4 separate regions of the Homo sapiens genome follow, and all the other regions are linked to region 3. Evidence: promoter capture Hi-C in 16 types of primary human blood cells and fetal thymus (Javierre and others, 2016). All regions are on one chromosome and are shown on one strand. Each heading gives the region's core, a stretch centred on a gene start or on the middle of the fragment in contact. The rest is flanking DNA. Distances are from core to core; before and after follow the strand shown. Region 1 overlaps ZXDC (ZXD family zinc finger C). Region 2 holds the start of HMCES (5-hydroxymethylcytosine binding, ES cell specific). Region 3 holds the start of SEC61A1 (SEC61 translocon subunit alpha 1). Region 4 overlaps MBD4 (methyl-CpG binding domain 4, DNA glycosylase).

Region 1 (4,055 bases), core at 1,148-3,647, 1.6 Mb after region 3:
TGGAAAGGCAGAAGAATGGAGTCGGCTGGGTGGCAGAGCCCAGGTGGGGATTGTGGTCTGTGGTGAGGGCCCAGGAGGAAGGACCAGTCATTCAAACAGAAACTGGAATGTGTGCCTAGCATGCCCCTAACCTGTATATGCACACGGCTCTCCTTATAATGTCCTTAAACAAGAATTTTTAAAGGATGAGATGAGAATTATGAACGGGTTTTATTATTTTTTCCCTCGCATATGCCTGTGGACTGTCTTGCGCATTCCTCTTCAGAGAGAATGTGGCTTGAGGCCACTAGCTCAAAGTCTTTTTCAGTCATACACTCTTGGGAATCTGATGGTGGCTGTAGACCCTTTCCCTGCTAAAAGAGTATCATTCTGTGTATGACACTGGGAAGGTCAGGGATCCCGCCTGCTTCCAGGCATGAGGTCTCTTGAGGGTTTTGTGTTGGCTGATCCATGAGGCTTCTTGTGTTGAGATGAGATTAGATGGTTAGATGAGATTAGATGTTTAGAAGCAGGAGCAGGACCAGGGAAGCATCATCAAAGGGCCCAGACCTGAGTTTTCTGAAGGCCTGAGCCAGGGAGTGGGAATGATGAGGGTCTCTAGCAGGTGAGATTGCAGAGGGAGAACCAAAGGGTGTAATTATCTATGGGGGTGTGGGGGGTTCTTGCCAAGGCAGAGAGAGTCTGTGTTCAGATTTACATGACCAAGTGTGTGAACACACCGAAGCCCAAAATACCCTGGAGGTATTTTGGGACCAGATTGAGGCCAAAGATCAGCATTTCTGAGTTAGATGTTGCTGGGGAAAGTAGGGTTCCTTGGGCTGATACTTTTGGGCAGTGCTATGCCATGTACATCTGTGTGGCAGTTCATAGGCATGATAGTATCTCGTTAAAGGCTCCAAGAGGAGCTGCAGCAAAGACTCCTGTTAAACATCCTGCAGCCTCATGTTTTCCACCCTGTTGGAGCCCTGAATGTTTCTGTCGGAGGAGAAGTATTGCTGTGGAATTGTTGAGGCTTAGCTGCTTTGGCCAGGGGTTAGGATTGAGGTGAAGATTACAAAGCAGGGAACCTAAGGAAATTGCGAAAGGAAAAAGAATCCAAACAGCAAGGGACAGGGCTGGCAGTTGGAGGGTGTCAGGGAGGAAATTTGGATATGTAGAGGATGCAGCATCACCCCCAAGGGGTGAAAAATCCTGGCTAGTAGGATGATTTGTAGCCTTTCAAAGATCAACCCTACCAGACAAAATCTTGTTCCTTAGTATTTGATTTCTCTCATGGGGTTCTTGGGTCTCAGTGTGTGTGCAGGATCAGTGCTCCGGAGCCGGCCAGTAGATGGCTGTGAACGGAGGACTTTCTCTTTATCGGTTGCTCCATCTCCAAGTCATGTTGCAACAGGTGGCCAGCGTGTGCCTATTGGCTGCCATTAGCTGCCTTCCTGTGGTGATCACAAAGCCAAGCATTAATGGTCTTCCCTTTTTAGAGAGTGCTTCTGAGTCATGTTTTCCCTTGTCTGCTTCAGTGTGAACAGGGTCTGGTGGGTGTGACTAGCATTAGCTATGTTGTATAATTTTTGCCACGCTTTGAGCAGGGTTTGTGTTTTCCTTGTTCAGGCTGTGAGAAGACATTTATCACAGTGAGTGCCCTGTTTTCCCATAACCGAGCCCACTTCAGGGAACAAGAGCTCTTTTCCTGCTCCTTTCCTGGGTGCAGCAAGCAGTATGATAAAGCCTGTCGGCTGAAAATTCACCTGCGGAGCCATACAGGTAATGAGCTAGGGAACGCACAGCATTTGGACCCAAGATTTGTCTTCATCGTAGCTGTTGGAGTTGTAAATTTTATGCTGTATAATTTTTTCTTTTATAAGGTGAAAGACCATTTATTTGTGACTCTGACAGCTGTGGCTGGACCTTCACCAGCATGTCCAAACTTCTAAGGCACAGAAGGTAATCCTTACATTTTGGTTTGCATTATCAGGTTTGAAAATGAGTGGTTTGTCAGCAGCAGAAACCAATGAATGAAATATCTGTAGACATTTTTTAAGTTGTTAAAAAAGGAGCTCAGTGTTGATGATTTGGAAAATTCAGAAAACTGTAAAAAGAAAATTGCTCAGAATCTCATCACCTGAAGTCAGTTTTTTCTGTGTATACTTTTTTTAAAAAAAGCTAAATTGGCATACTCTGTTCTTAAAAAAAAAACAATTCCAGGTTTTTTTTTTAACTTAACATTGTAGAATAAGCTTTCTTCATGTAATTACAAGTTTTCATGGTGGTAATGACAACCCTGGAGACTGTGTCCAGGTGACACTCAGCACTTTACATGTGTGTCTTCTACCTTCCCAACAACCTCAAAGCTAATGTTCTTATTCTCCCTGTTTTACAGTGAGACTCGGAGAGATTCAGTGGTTTTTCTGTACTTGCACAGCTGGGCTCTGAGGATTTAATATAAAAATGTCACTTAGGAAAAGACACAGTCTTTACAAGTTGGCTTAAGAGAGTCCTTTTGGCATTGCAGCTGATGCTCTGTGCACATTTCTCACGACCGTCTGTCGCTCGGAAAGCTTGTTGATCATTGGGGTTTCTAAACAATAGAAACACCTTCATCAATACATTTGGGACTCCACTGTTCTTAGATTAGCTTATATTAGATTGAAGTAGCATTAATTGTTTGATGTGTGACTCTGGGGTCAGCTTAGTCATTAAAGTAGAATTTTTATGGGGTAGCTAAATTGCAAATCTGCTCACATGGATTAAAGACAGAATTAAGATTTTCCGAAATGTACTGATCATTTTTGTAAATGCAAAGTTTGTGTTTTGGTATGTTTTGTAGAATTTTAAAGAATTATGGTGAGTTGTGTGAGGAATCACAGCTCCTTTATTTTTCTGTCTGGCAGGAAACATGACGATGACCGGAGGTTTACCTGCCCTGTCGAGGGCTGTGGGAAATCATTCACCAGAGCAGAGCATCTGAAAGGCCACAGCATAACCCACCTAGGCACAAAGCCGTTCGAGTGTCCTGTGGAAGGTAGATTTTAAAACATTGCTTTGAGCAGTAAACTAAGTGCAATGCCAACATTTATCCTGTTAAGTTTCCGTTGTTTAAAGGTAAATGTTAGCTGCTTAAAGACTGACTCAATATAAGTTGCAGCATTATGTTTACTTACCTCATTGAGTTAATTGTACTATTTTGGGAGCAGTGACTTGAGAATCAGACGCAGTTTGACTCATGGCCCTGATCCTCATTAGATCTGTGGCTCTAGTTAAGTTACCTGTTTAATTTGGTGGTCGTGAGGATTAGGTGAAATGTGGAAAATGCCTGTTTATCCATCTGGCATGGAGCTCGGACTCAGTAAATGGTAGGTACTTTTGAGATCACGTTTGAATTGTCACTCCAATCATTTTGTAATTGGAGAGCAGTAAAGCTAGACTGACTTTTTCTTTTTTTGTTTAATTTTTGAGACAGTCTTGCTCTGTCACCCAGGCTGGATGCAATGGTGTGATCTTGGCTCATTGCAACCTCTGCCTCCCAGGTTTAAGTGATTCTTATGCCTCAGCCTTCTGAGTAGCTGGGACTACAGGCGTATGCCACCACGCTTGGCTGATTTTTATGCTTTTAGTAGAGACAGGGTTTCACCATGTTGGCCAGGATGGTCTCAAACTCCTGACGTCAAGTGATCCACCCACTTTGGCCTCCCAAAGTGCTGGGATTACAGGTGTGAGCCACCACGCCCAACCTGACTTTTTAAAAGGTATAGTAGAGTGGTTTTTTCCTTTAAAACACTGAAGGCTCAGTTCATTTGCCAGAAATTGGCTGCGTGACCTGTGCGTGACTTGTGCGTGCTGGCCCTACTCTAGTTCTGCAGGTGCACTGGGAGGCAGTGAGCCAGGACACGTCGGGTGGTCATGGATTCAAAGTCTGGCTCTACCGCTCCCTAAAGTGGTGGCCTCAGTCAAGCTGCTTCTCTGGGCCTTGGTTTCCTTACCTGGAAGAGAGAATAATAAAGACCCATTTAAAGCTGAGCCTAGCTCTTAGAACATAATGAACATATATACAAGTGGTG
Region 2 (3,998 bases), core at 34-2,533, 1.2 Mb before region 3:
TGCCATGTATAGCAAAGGCATTTAAATTGAGCCTGAAAAATACGTCTTTATCAGTGTTAGAAGCCACTGATAAAACTTCTTTCATGAGGCCAAGAGAGGTTCTCAACTGGAAGTCAGAATATATCAGTAAAGGCTGGTTTTTAATGTCATCCCAAGAGGCTGAGCACACACCAAACCAAATAGGAGATGACCATCACGAGGCTGGGCGAGGGGCTAGCATAGTGCAATGCTGGTTACCTTCTCAAAGTGCAGTCGAGACAGAAGCACTGGGCTGTTGGATTGAGGACTCTTGTTGTAAGAGGGGCAGTACTTATCAGGGTCCCTCCACTCCGGGAGCCGCTGCTGGCCCCGCCGATCCTGGTAGGCGCAAGCTCTCGTGAGAACATCTCTAGGTAAGTGACAGGATGTTCGCCCACACATTCTTCAACACCGCCCCTCGCAACCTTTAAATTACAAAACGTAAGGAAAAGGCTTACGTATCTCAAATATTAGGTCTTATTCCTTGAGTCCCCGCCTTCTCTTTCCGTTCCCACAGGGCCGTGCCCCTCCGTGACCACCGTCTAAAGTCTTCCCCAAAAAGTCCCACAAAGACAAGGATGTGCCCGTTTGCTTCGCTCCCTGAGCCCACTGCCCAGCTCCGTGCAGGGCACTGAGGCAAGTCCCGAGAGGAGCTCTGCAAATGCCTGCCTGAGCGCAGGAAGAGCCGCAGCGGAGGGGGCTTCACAGTCCAGCGAAGCAGGGCAAGCGCAGCTAGCTGGGGTCGCCTCCTCCGGGTGACTTGGTGCCCCCAACTCCCCGTCCTTCCCCCCAGTCCCCGCTGGGGTCAGCGACCCACGCCGGCCAGCAACCGGTCACCTCGAGGGCGGCCACTGGACGGCCCGGGGCCGGGGTGCAGAATCCCCGCCTCCCGCCCGCTAGTCCGCAGCGTCCCCGGGCCCGACCTGCGAACCTGTGGGCCGCGGATCCCGCTCCGGACTCTGCTCCCCGGAGCGGGGGCCGGTGCTCGGGGAGCAGGTGGCCCCCAGCCACCGGCCGCGATCCCTCGCCCCTCCCCGCGTCGCCTCCGCTCCGCTCCGGCCCTCAGACTCCGCCGCCCCGCGTCGCCTCACTTCGGCCCAGGCCGCCCTCTCCGCGTCGCCTCGCGTCCGCTCGGGCCTCTGCTCCCCTCTGTCAGCTCGCGTCGCTTCCTTTCCCCTCCCCTCCCCTCGCCATACCCCGACCGCCCGCGTCGCCTCCCCTCCCCTCACCTCGCCCCGGCAGCGCGCGTCACCTCCCTCGACTCTCCTCACCCCCGCTCCGCTCCGCTTTGGCCACCCGCGTCACCGCCCCTCACGTCAGCCCCGCCTCAGCCCGCGCTCCCGGCGCCAGGCCCCGCCCCCAAGGGCCCTTGGTTCCCGCGGTGCCCTCGGGCCCCGGAGGCGGCGTCTTCTCCCCTCCGGTTTGGGATGAATTTTCTCCCGTTTCCCCAGGAGACAGTGACTGCCTTGGGAGACATATCGATCCCAAGCTTCTCGGGACTCCACTTTCCTCCATATTGGCCGTTCCCTGGCGGGGTTAACCTTCCTCCCCGCCCCCAGCGTGTTTCAGGGCTGGCAGGGAAGGTTCCCGCCGCGCTGAGTCTAGGGCACAGGGTCATGGAAGGCGGGAAACCAGGAAACTCCACTCCTTACTTCACAGTCCTGCCAGCTGCCTCACAGTGCGAGGCAAAAATGGAGGAACACTGAAGAAATGAAAGTCAGAAGAACTTCCAGGAATCGCGCACTTCGCCCTCAAACATTGGTGGGCACTAGAATAAGCCTTTCCTGCCCCAGCCCCTCAGCTGAATCTCTAAGGGTGAGGCCCAGATTTTTAAAACAGCCCTTTCGGGTGTACTTTGGCCTCAAAGTTGGTAAAATAGCCTGGCTTGAGTTTAAAAGCCTGCTCCCCTTGGGACCTAAACCGGAGATTCTTCATCTGCAACCAACAGAGAATGCTCTAGAGGGCTGTTCGCCTATGCTGATTCGCTGAACTGAACAGGGAGCAGAAACCCCAGGGCACACTCCATGTAAGACCAGATGCTGGAACGATCAGACACAGGACCCAAGCCCTTTGGAGCCTCCATTTATCGACTATCAAAGGAGGATGCGTTGTGAAGAAGCACGAACGGGAGGGAGTGTGAACTCTGCCTGTTAGCTGATTCACTCAACCACCCTCTACCGCTCCCACCCCTGGGCTTGGTGCTGGGACAGCGATGACGGGGAGAGGGTCCTGCCTCACAGGACTACAACAGCCAAAGGGCTGTGGGTGCAAGGGGGACAGGGCAGGTGTTCTGCCTCTTTAGGGGAGGCCTTGAAGGGGAAGGTGGAGCCCTGAAGCATGAGTCTGCAGAAGTAGCAATCATTCAATAAATACATGCTGATTTATTACAGGGATAAGATGGTTTCTTGGGGGATAGATTCAAGAGGAGTTGAGAATGTTTTATTCATTTACAATGTCCCTTTCCTGGAAGGGTGGACAGCAAGATTTAGGACAAGCTAAAATCATCCCCTATTTAAAAAAAAAAAAAAAAAAAGTCACCAGCAAGTAGTCCCGGGTGGGAGGTGGGAGCAGAATAAAAAAAAATCTGCAATGATTCCTAATTGTTTTTCAATACAGAAGCTTGGGAAGGGGTTTCTGCCAGTTTCATGAGGAAGGCACAACTTCCAGGTAGTGTTGGGGAAGGGTATGAGGTCCTATGCAGGCTGGCCTCTTATCCCACAGATGCCAAGATGATGTCTACTGGCAGCTCCTCCAAACTTCTGGCTGTCACCTGCATTGTCACTGTGTCCAAAAGCAGCAGCCGGGAGCGCACCAGGATGTCATGACCACCCCGGAACACACCTAGAAGGGAAGAGAGAAGTACAGATATATACAGCAGAAGGGACTGTACAGGGCAGGCTAAGGATGGCATTTGCAGCAACCCATGAAGGCAGCTCTGGTGTAGTGAAACGGGCAGGAGAGCTGGGCTGAAATCCCTGAGTGAGGGATTTCACTGTGAAAGTCACTGTCTCTCAGCCAGGCGCGGTGGCTCACGCTTGTAATTCCAGCACTTTGGGAGGCTGAGGTGGGCAGATCATGAGGTCAGGAATTCGAGACCAGCCTGGCCAACACAGTGAAACCCCATCTCTACTAAAAATACGAAAATTAGCTGGGCATGGTGGTGGACGCCTGTAATCCCAGCTACTCGGGAGGCTGAAGCAGGAGAATCGCTTGAACCCGGGAGGCGGAGGTTGCAGCGAGCAGAGATTGTGCCACTGCATGCCAGCCTGGGTGACAGAGCTAGACTCCGTCTCAAAAAAAAAAAAAAAAAAGAAAGTCACTGTCTCTCAGGACTTCAGTATCCTCAACTACAAAGTGGCAGGGATGATAATACCATATTTCAGGCTTCTGCTAAGTTCAAATGAACTGATGGACATAAAAGGCTTATATCTCATGTCACAGAGGCTCTTGCACGTTGACTGAATCTGAGAGCACAAATGAAGGGGACAGCCCCACCACGAGAAAACCACAGGGCAGGTGTCTGCAAGACCCAGGGGACTAGGTTGTTTCAATGTGGCTACAAACTGTCAGCTGTAGGCAGGGTACTGAAGCAGAGCCTCCTTTCAACCCTGTTTATAAACACTCAGCCAAAAAAAATCATCCCATTTCCTTTTGTTAACTGTTTTAGGTATGATAATTGTATTGTCCTTTAAAAAAGGGAAGGGGTCATTCTCTCTTAGAGAAACATACAGATACAGGATTTACATATAAAATGCTATTTCTGGAGTTTGCTAGTAAATAATCTGGGAAGGAGAATGAGTGTGGGTACACTCAGCCAACCCTGTAGAAAATAAGACAAAGGATATGAAGACAATGATCAGAAAAGGAAATACAAATGCCTCAACATTTAAGAAGATACTTAACTTCATTGAAAATACAAAAACTACACTAAGATATCATTGTCCACACAGACTGGAAAAGATCATAAAGTGTGGTAACAT
Region 3 (4,228 bases), core at 1,618-4,117:
ACCCCAGCTCACCTCACACCACAGAGCATTACCTTTATTTTACAACTGAGCCTTAGAAGAGCTAAATAATTTGTACCAAACCCCAATGCTAAAGTGAGTTTGAGTCCCAAACTGTGCTTTTAACCATTAGCATTAACAGTTAAGACTCAAGAACAAAGAATGTCACAATAGAACATGACTTGTAAAACACACGAGCAACCACTTTTCATTTGAGTTTCAGTCACAAAACCTTGTTATTCTAGAGTCAAGTAATTTGGAATTGCTCAATAGTGTATTTTCTATGAATTAAGGGTAAAACAGTGTAATAAACCATATTGGGGAAGGGCAGGAGAGTTGCATGTTTAACCTACTAGTAACATTTGTTTAAGGATTTTCACATCTTCTCAGGTACATAGGTTGCATAGGTGACAAGAATCACTGTAAAGATGACTATTAAGTATTAAGTATCATTAGAAAACCTCCCACCCAAAACCTCTGTCACTAAAGAGTAGAGTGGGAACTCTTCCAGGTTTTCTGCCTCTGAAACTGAGTGTCTTCACTAATACCTGCTGCCTACACTACATTAATGGCTTTAGAGGGCTTAACAAACATTAATTATTGTACAGACGGAAGATTCTGAGGTTGAAATACCTTGTGAGAGACTGACAGTATTAAGTGACAAAACTGTGTTCTTTAAAAACACTTCTAGGCAGGCACTGAGTCAGCATTCCTGGCCCTCTGGCCAGAACTGGAGTCACAGTCCTCTAACTATACATGCAGGCAAAGTAGGACACAGTCATACGGCCACACAACAGTGGGTGAATCAGTGTTCAGATACTCCATCCAAAGCTGGGGGCATTCACAGGACTCTTCTTCTCTTGAGAATGGTCCTCTTCCCACCTACCATCCCACCACACTAAGAAATTAGAAAGTGGCCAAGAGAAGGCAACGCCATTTCAGAGTAACCTGTCTGAAATGAATCTTGATGGGAAACAAAGAGCAGACAATTTTTTCAAAACTCCCTTTCTAATCACCAAGTCCTCTCTCCTGGTTACAATCAAATTTAACATCAAAACCCCAAAAGCTCTTTATCCAAGTCCTGTCTCCTCTGCTTCTTAGTAGCCCCTAAATCCATTCTTGCTCAGTACCACAGTTCATCCTCTGATGTGAAAAGCCTCTAAACCAACTCTAGTCCTCTCCTTTTCTTCCAAAGTGACATTCTCATGTCTGGCCCTTGTTATTCATCTCCTAATGTTCCCCACCTACAATTATGTTCTATCAATAGCAACTACATCTAATAACCTCCCATCCAAACATGCTACACTCTTGTCACCAATGCCTTTGCAAACTATATACTCCTTTTATTTGGAATTCCTTTCCGTCCCTTCAAGGAGACTTCTATTTCTCCTTCAAAACCACCATAAGACATCATGTCTCCCAGAGTTAATCCCTTCCTGAGCCACTGCTATACCTTGCACGTATTTCCCTTGTTCCGTCTACCACACTGAGTTACAAGGCCAAGGTCACATAGCTATTAAGGTGCTATGTAAAGGGTGGGACCTAGGCTTGCCTGCCTCCAGAGCCATGCCCCTTCGCTACACTGGAATTGAGGGGGTAAAGCTTTACAAATTCGTCCATTAAAAGCAGCACATGGGCATTTATATGAAACTATTTTACGTAAAAAAATGAAAGTGGATTCCAAGCACCCAAGTGTCCATGTGAATGCTTTAACAACAGTTTGAAAAATAATGTGAGGACACAAACATTTTATTCCCCACTCTCTAACCTAGGAACCTAATGAAACTTTTTTTCGTTGACAGCTGTAGTTACACTGGCAACACTCACTCCACACAATTTCTGATTCAGCACAGCTCTAAATTTAATCTTTCCTTGTTTTAATACACCGTCTGTGAAAAGCAGCAGACTTCACAAAAGAATAGCCTTTATTCCCCCTATTGTGACAGCCTACATAAAAGGTACAAAATCATTTGTAAATACTAAAGTGACAGCCCTTCCCTTTAGCAGCTGGATACAAAGGGCATCTCCTGGGAAAAAAAACCAACCCGTGATCTGCTCCCGTTGGAGGTGAAAAAGGGAGGGTAACTCAATCTGCTATCCTAACTGAGGCCTTATTCATTCATGGCCCGGATCCATTTTTGGGACAGGGCAACCGGAGGCTTTGTTCTCGGAGCAACATCCACCAAAGATGCTCCAAATAAAGCACAGTGATTTCAGTGGAAATTTCCACACAACCAGGTCACCTTTCGACAGCTCTCCGGAATAACAGAGCACAACTACACTCCAAGGGAAGAGAAGGGAGAGTTTCCATTGCCGTGCTGAAGCCATTTTTAATCATACTGTAAACTTCCAGAGTCCAGACAGTTTCCTGAAACCTTCTTTGTTGGCGATTTGGGGTACTTACCTTCCTCTCTGGCTTCTGAATTTCCGGCAGGATGACACAGAAGGGCTTGATGACTTCCAGAAATTTGACTTTGATGGGAGAAACAAAACAGGAAGAGTTGGGACACAGAGAAGTAACCTTCCGCGCTACCCAGGGACGCCTTCTGCCCACGACGAGTGAGAGCAGGGGCCAGGGGAGCCGGCCGCACCCCGGACGCGTGGGGATACTCGAGAAGGGCCGGGGGCACGGGCCGCGTTCTGCAGGGGGCCGGTCAGGGTTGGCCGGCGGGCGCCCGACCGCACGGGTGTGGGGAAGGGGGATCTGTTCCGTCCCGGCCTCAATAGGGCTTCCCTACAGGACTCACTTGCCATGGCGGCGGCTGCTCGGGCTCCGGGTCCCGCTTCAGCTCAGCTCTGCTCCGCGTGAGGCGACGCTGCCCGCGGCCCAGCGCGTTCCACTGCACAGCAGCTCCGCCGAGAGACACGTCAGTGCTAGCCCGGCGGCAAGCGGCGCGGCGCGGCGCGGGGCGGGGCCGGGGCCGGGCCTCGGATCGCTTCCGCTTCCTGCCACGCGCGCCCGCCGGCCGCCGCGCTTCGCCGCGCCGCGCCGCTTCGCCGAGACCTCAAGCCCCGGCATGCAGCGGGGCTCCTGGGGCCTGTCGGGAAGGGGCCTGGCGCGCGGGGCCCGCCGGGACTGGGGGTGTGCGGCTGCGCAGACTTGGTAACGCGAGAGCGCGCGGGGAGGGTGTGTCACGCCTCCCGAGACTGGGGCTGTGCGGCCTCACGGAGAAACTGAGGCAGGCGCGAAGCGTCGAGTGCGCGCGTGGCCCTGCAGGCAGGCGGAGACCCTGGTGGCTCCCATACACGTAACAGCACTCACTGCTCTTTGACGTTAGTGAATAGACCGTAAGCTCCCTGGAGCAGGGACCTTATCCCAGCGTCTACCGCGGCGCCCGTCACCTAGTAGGTCTCCGTCATTACCTGCTGAGTAGGGCGCGGGCTGGTGGGGCTTACCGAGCACCCTCGCTGTCTGAGTCATTAAGCAAACCCGGAGGCTTGTCGTGGGTGTGGGTCCCCTTCCATCTGAGAACGAATGGGATGAGTTTCTGGAGAGACTTGGCCGGAGAAGGGCCGGGGCAGCTCGGGAAGTAGTCTGCCTCACAGAAGAATTCAGGAAGGCCTCCTGGGAGAGTACCTTTGTGCCGAGCCTTGATAGATTCTGGCGAGAAGGAATGAGGGAACAGGTTGAGGAGACTGTTGTGGGCAAAGCATGGCGGTGTGATTGCCTAAGATCGGTGTGGGAAAGGGGGATAACGGGTAGGGCAAGGGATGCTGGGGCTGGGGGTTGGAATTTACTTTCAGGCATCTGTAGTCAGTAGGTATGATGTCATCTAAGAGAAACAGACTTAATGCTGTGAGCATTTAGCAGGGAGGAGGTGGGCACGCCTTGTGGGATCAGGCAAGGTTTCATGGAGCTAAACCTTGACCAGGACAGGTAGAAGTTGAGGGTACATATGTGGCAAGATGCTTTTTTGCTTTTAATTTAGGTGTCAACTATTTGGATTTTTCCATTCTCACCCATTTCTAGCAGATAATCAGGTTTTGTACATTCTTGGCTCAGAAAGTTGGACAGGACAGGAAGTCTTTTTTGGAATACAAACCCACTGGTGGAAAATTCAAAGGACTACTGGGAACAGGCAGGTAACTTCAGTGAAGTGGTCTAGGTGTGACATCACTTGATATCCATCCCCCACCAAAAAGGGGAAAAAGAAGACATTGACTCTTTATTCAGAGTCTGAAATGCAACCCATCTTCACTTCCAGGACCCACTGATGATCTCTTCTGGAGT
Region 4 (2,813 bases), core at 314-2,813, 1.4 Mb before region 3:
TTATATACATAAATGAGTGGAGAATAGTTGGTGTCTTCACACCCCTCCTGATACTTACTACTAAGTGTGACTTCCAATTTAATTTTGTATATATCATAGTCATTTTTATCTTCTATTTTAATGTAATGCTTCTCTAAAATGCTTTAGAGCTCTAAATAATTCAAAAGTATAATCACATAGTTCATCTATTATTTGTAATATGCTCTTAATACAGAATTCAGAACTTAGCAGTTTTGTCTTTATAATACCTCAGTGAATAAGAGATAAAAGGGAGACCTTTTGAGCAGCCCTGTATTAGTTATTCATTATGCCATTATGGTATAATGAATAACTCCTTTAAAGAATAATAATTTTACTTAAACTCCTGTGGGGAAACAGCCTGGAGAAATTTGTGAAGCAGGAGATTAGGTTTGATTCTTGTTCCCAGTTCTACCCATGATTTTATGTCTTTTCTGTGCCTGGAGTTTCTCTGCCTTTAACACAAGATGGCCATATATACCTAGGAACTGCATAAGAATTCTTCAAGTCTGTGTCCTAGACACTGAGCTTCTTGAAGAAAGCTTTGAGGTTTATGTAGATTTATTGCTAGCAAAATGGGCAAATATTAAAAACTTTTTTTTGTGGTAAGAGTCTAGTTCTCAACATGAGATGAAGTACTCTTAGTACGAGGTGTCCATGAAATAGTGAAGACACCCATTGGCTTAGCTAGAAATTGCCAAGTAAACCTGGCATAAAGGAGACTAGTAATTATTCATAGGAGCCCACAGAAAAAGTTGTCAAATCAGAGCAGTCAGAGCAGTTTCCTTTGTTCTTTTTTTTTTTTACTCTCTACTGGGCTTTACCTACTCAAACTAAAATAGCGAAAAAACAGTAGTCTAATTATCTGGAGACCTGGATACTTGTTCCAGTTTATAGTCAATCCCAGTATCATTTTGGGATGATTGCTTCATTTAGAAGCTTCACTTTCTTCATCTGTAAAATAGAGGTAACCATCCTGACTAGTCCTGTTTTTCACATCAAAAATATTGTAAAATGAGAAGTGAAAAAGATGCTATACAAATGCAAGGTATTATTAACTGATATTCAAATTGCGAGGGTATGGTTAAGGAGTATTACATGTGATTTTAGAAATTTGAGAAGTCTGATAACACTGGTTCCCAATAGATAGAGGTTCTCAATAGGTAGTTGTCTCAGGTGTTCTAGGGTTCAAATTGTAGGTTTTTCTGCAGATTCTGTTTTGTCTGTATCCCTTTTTTTGGTAAGCGTAAAAGTAAGTGTTCACTGCAGAAATTTTGGAAAATACAGAAAAGTAAAGAAGGAAAGAAAAATTAGCACTTGGCAACAACCATTATATCATTTTGGCTTATTTCATTCTTAACTTCTGTATTGTTATTTATATATGTTTCCCCTTTTTTATAAAATTGGGATCATATGTAGACTCTTGCTTTTTCATTTAGAAGTTAATAGGAAAATATTCACAATAGTCTAAAAAATACTTTAATGACCACATTATACAAATGCATCGTAATTTAAAATATTCCATACTGCCTTTAATTTTTCAATACTATAAACTCTGAACATAAGTCATAAAGAACTAGTGTCACAGAGTGGTTAAAGGTGAGGACTCAGGAGCCAGACTGTCTGGATTTGAATTTTAGCTGGGACACTTAGTATCTGTGTGATCTTGAGCAAGTTACTTAGCTTCTCTGTGCCTCAATGTCCTTATCTGTAAAGTGGAGATAAAAATAGTACCAAGTTCATGGGTCATTAGTTAGATTAATTGGGTATTTATGTAAAGGGCTTAGAATAGTGCCTGGCATGCTTTGTAATAGTGTTGATATTATTATTTGCATCCCTCAATATTGCTTTAAGCTAAACCATAGACTCCATAAAGTGTTTACTTTTCCTTTTCAGAAGATACCATCCCACGAACACAGATAGAAAGAAGGAAAACAAGCCTGTATTTTTCCAGCAAATATAACAAAGAAGGTATCCCTTTCCCAATCAGAACAGCAAATTCTAATTCCATTTTGGGTTTTCAATTCTGATGCACTATGTTTGTTTAGCTCTTAGCCCCCCACGACGTAAAGCCTTTAAGAAATGGACACCTCCTCGGTCACCTTTTAATCTCGTTCAAGAAACACTTTTTCATGATCCATGGAAGCTTCTCATCGCTACTATATTTCTCAATCGGACCTCAGGTTTGGGGATTATTATCATCTTTGTCTTAGTAGAGACAGTGTGGTAGGGAGAAAGCACTGAATTGAGGCCTGGGTTCAAAGTCCATTTTGAGTGTGTCACCTGGGATAGGGCATTCCCCCTTCACCCTTAAACTCTTCACCTATGAGGAAATGAGACTGGATGACATCCAACAGACCTTTTAGAATAAAGAGGTAGATTTTATTTATTTTATACTTCCAAATTCTTTTTGATCATCAGTGAAAATCAGTTAACGTTTCTCCACCCTCTTTCATGTGTGTTTAAAAGTATCTTTTTCACTGAATGTACCTTGTGTTCTATATGCTTCTACTCTCATTATCTGCTGATCTGATCATTTAAAAGCTAATCATGCAAGGCCAGTTTTCAGCATAATTTGGACTATTAGCCCAATATATTAGCAGTTTTGGCATTTGATTCTGAAAGTGGTTGCTGGTTCAGATAATGGCTTCTCACCAGTGTTTTTTTGTTTTTTGTTTTCTTTAAAAAAAAAAACCCTCTGGATGAGATTTCTATGAGAAACTACTTGAACATGAAATCAGCCCACCTGGAGTCTTGTAATCATTCAGTTACTTTTACTTCCCAGGCAAAATGGC

What was found. Contacts are between HindIII fragments. The CHiCAGO score rates a contact against its expected background, and 5 or more counts as called.
Region 1: a fragment that was not itself captured here is called in contact with the fragment with the promoter of SEC61A1 in region 3 in 4 of 17 cell types (naive B cells, total CD4 T cells, total B cells and 1 more); the score reaches 10.2 in naive B cells.
Region 2: a contact is called between the fragment with the promoter of HMCES here and the fragment with the promoter of SEC61A1 in region 3, in 4 of 17 cell types (non-activated CD4 T cells, naive CD4 T cells, naive CD8 T cells and 1 more). The highest score is 7.8, in non-activated CD4 T cells.
Region 4: a contact is called between a fragment that was not itself captured here and the fragment with the promoter of SEC61A1 in region 3, in 1 of 17 cell types (activated CD4 T cells). The highest score is 6.6, in activated CD4 T cells.

Annotation. Positions count from the first base shown.
Region 1 is chr3:126,469,859-126,473,913 of GRCh38, reverse strand. ZXDC (ZXD family zinc finger C) reads left to right here. Exons shown (of 10, transcript NM_025112.5): 2 at 1,609-1,761; 3 at 1,863-1,941; 4 at 2,889-3,019. Among named protein-coding and RNA genes, the nearest start is that of ZXDC, 4.0 kb to the left of the region's middle. The HindIII fragment of the contact is 321 bases long and covers 2,237-2,557 here.
Region 2 is chr3:129,276,155-129,280,152 of GRCh38, reverse strand. HMCES (5-hydroxymethylcytosine binding, ES cell specific) reads right to left here and starts at 1,283. Exons shown (of 7, transcript NM_020187.3): 1 at 1,248-1,283; 2 at 238-443. The coding sequence starts at 420. COPG1 (coat protein complex I subunit gamma 1) reads right to left here. Exons shown (of 24, transcript NM_016128.4): 24 at 2,380-2,859. The coding sequence ends at 2,729. RefSeq lists an enhancer at 129-258 and silencers at 679-1,068, 1,079-1,428. The HindIII fragment of the contact is 5,702 bases long and covers 1-1,509 here.
Region 3 is chr3:128,051,076-128,055,303 of GRCh38, reverse strand. It overlaps SEC61A1 (SEC61 translocon subunit alpha 1), which reads right to left and starts at 2,867. Exons shown (of 12, transcript NM_013336.4): 1 at 2,745-2,867; 2 at 2,402-2,469. The coding sequence starts at 2,751. LOC102723759 (a long non-coding RNA gene) reads left to right here and starts at 3,129. Exons shown (of 4, transcript XR_007096073.1): 1 at 3,129-3,342. RefSeq lists a silencer at 2,554-3,193 and a cis regulatory region at 2,686-3,302. The HindIII fragment of the contact is 3,738 bases long and covers 1,602-4,228 here.
Region 4 is chr3:129,433,238-129,436,050 of GRCh38, reverse strand. MBD4 (methyl-CpG binding domain 4, DNA glycosylase) reads left to right here. Exons shown (of 8, transcript NM_001276270.2): 4 at 1,915-1,989; 5 at 2,067-2,201; 6 at 2,804-2,813. Among named protein-coding and RNA genes, the nearest start is that of MBD4, 5.3 kb to the left of the region's middle. The HindIII fragment of the contact is 1,207 bases long and covers 960-2,166 here.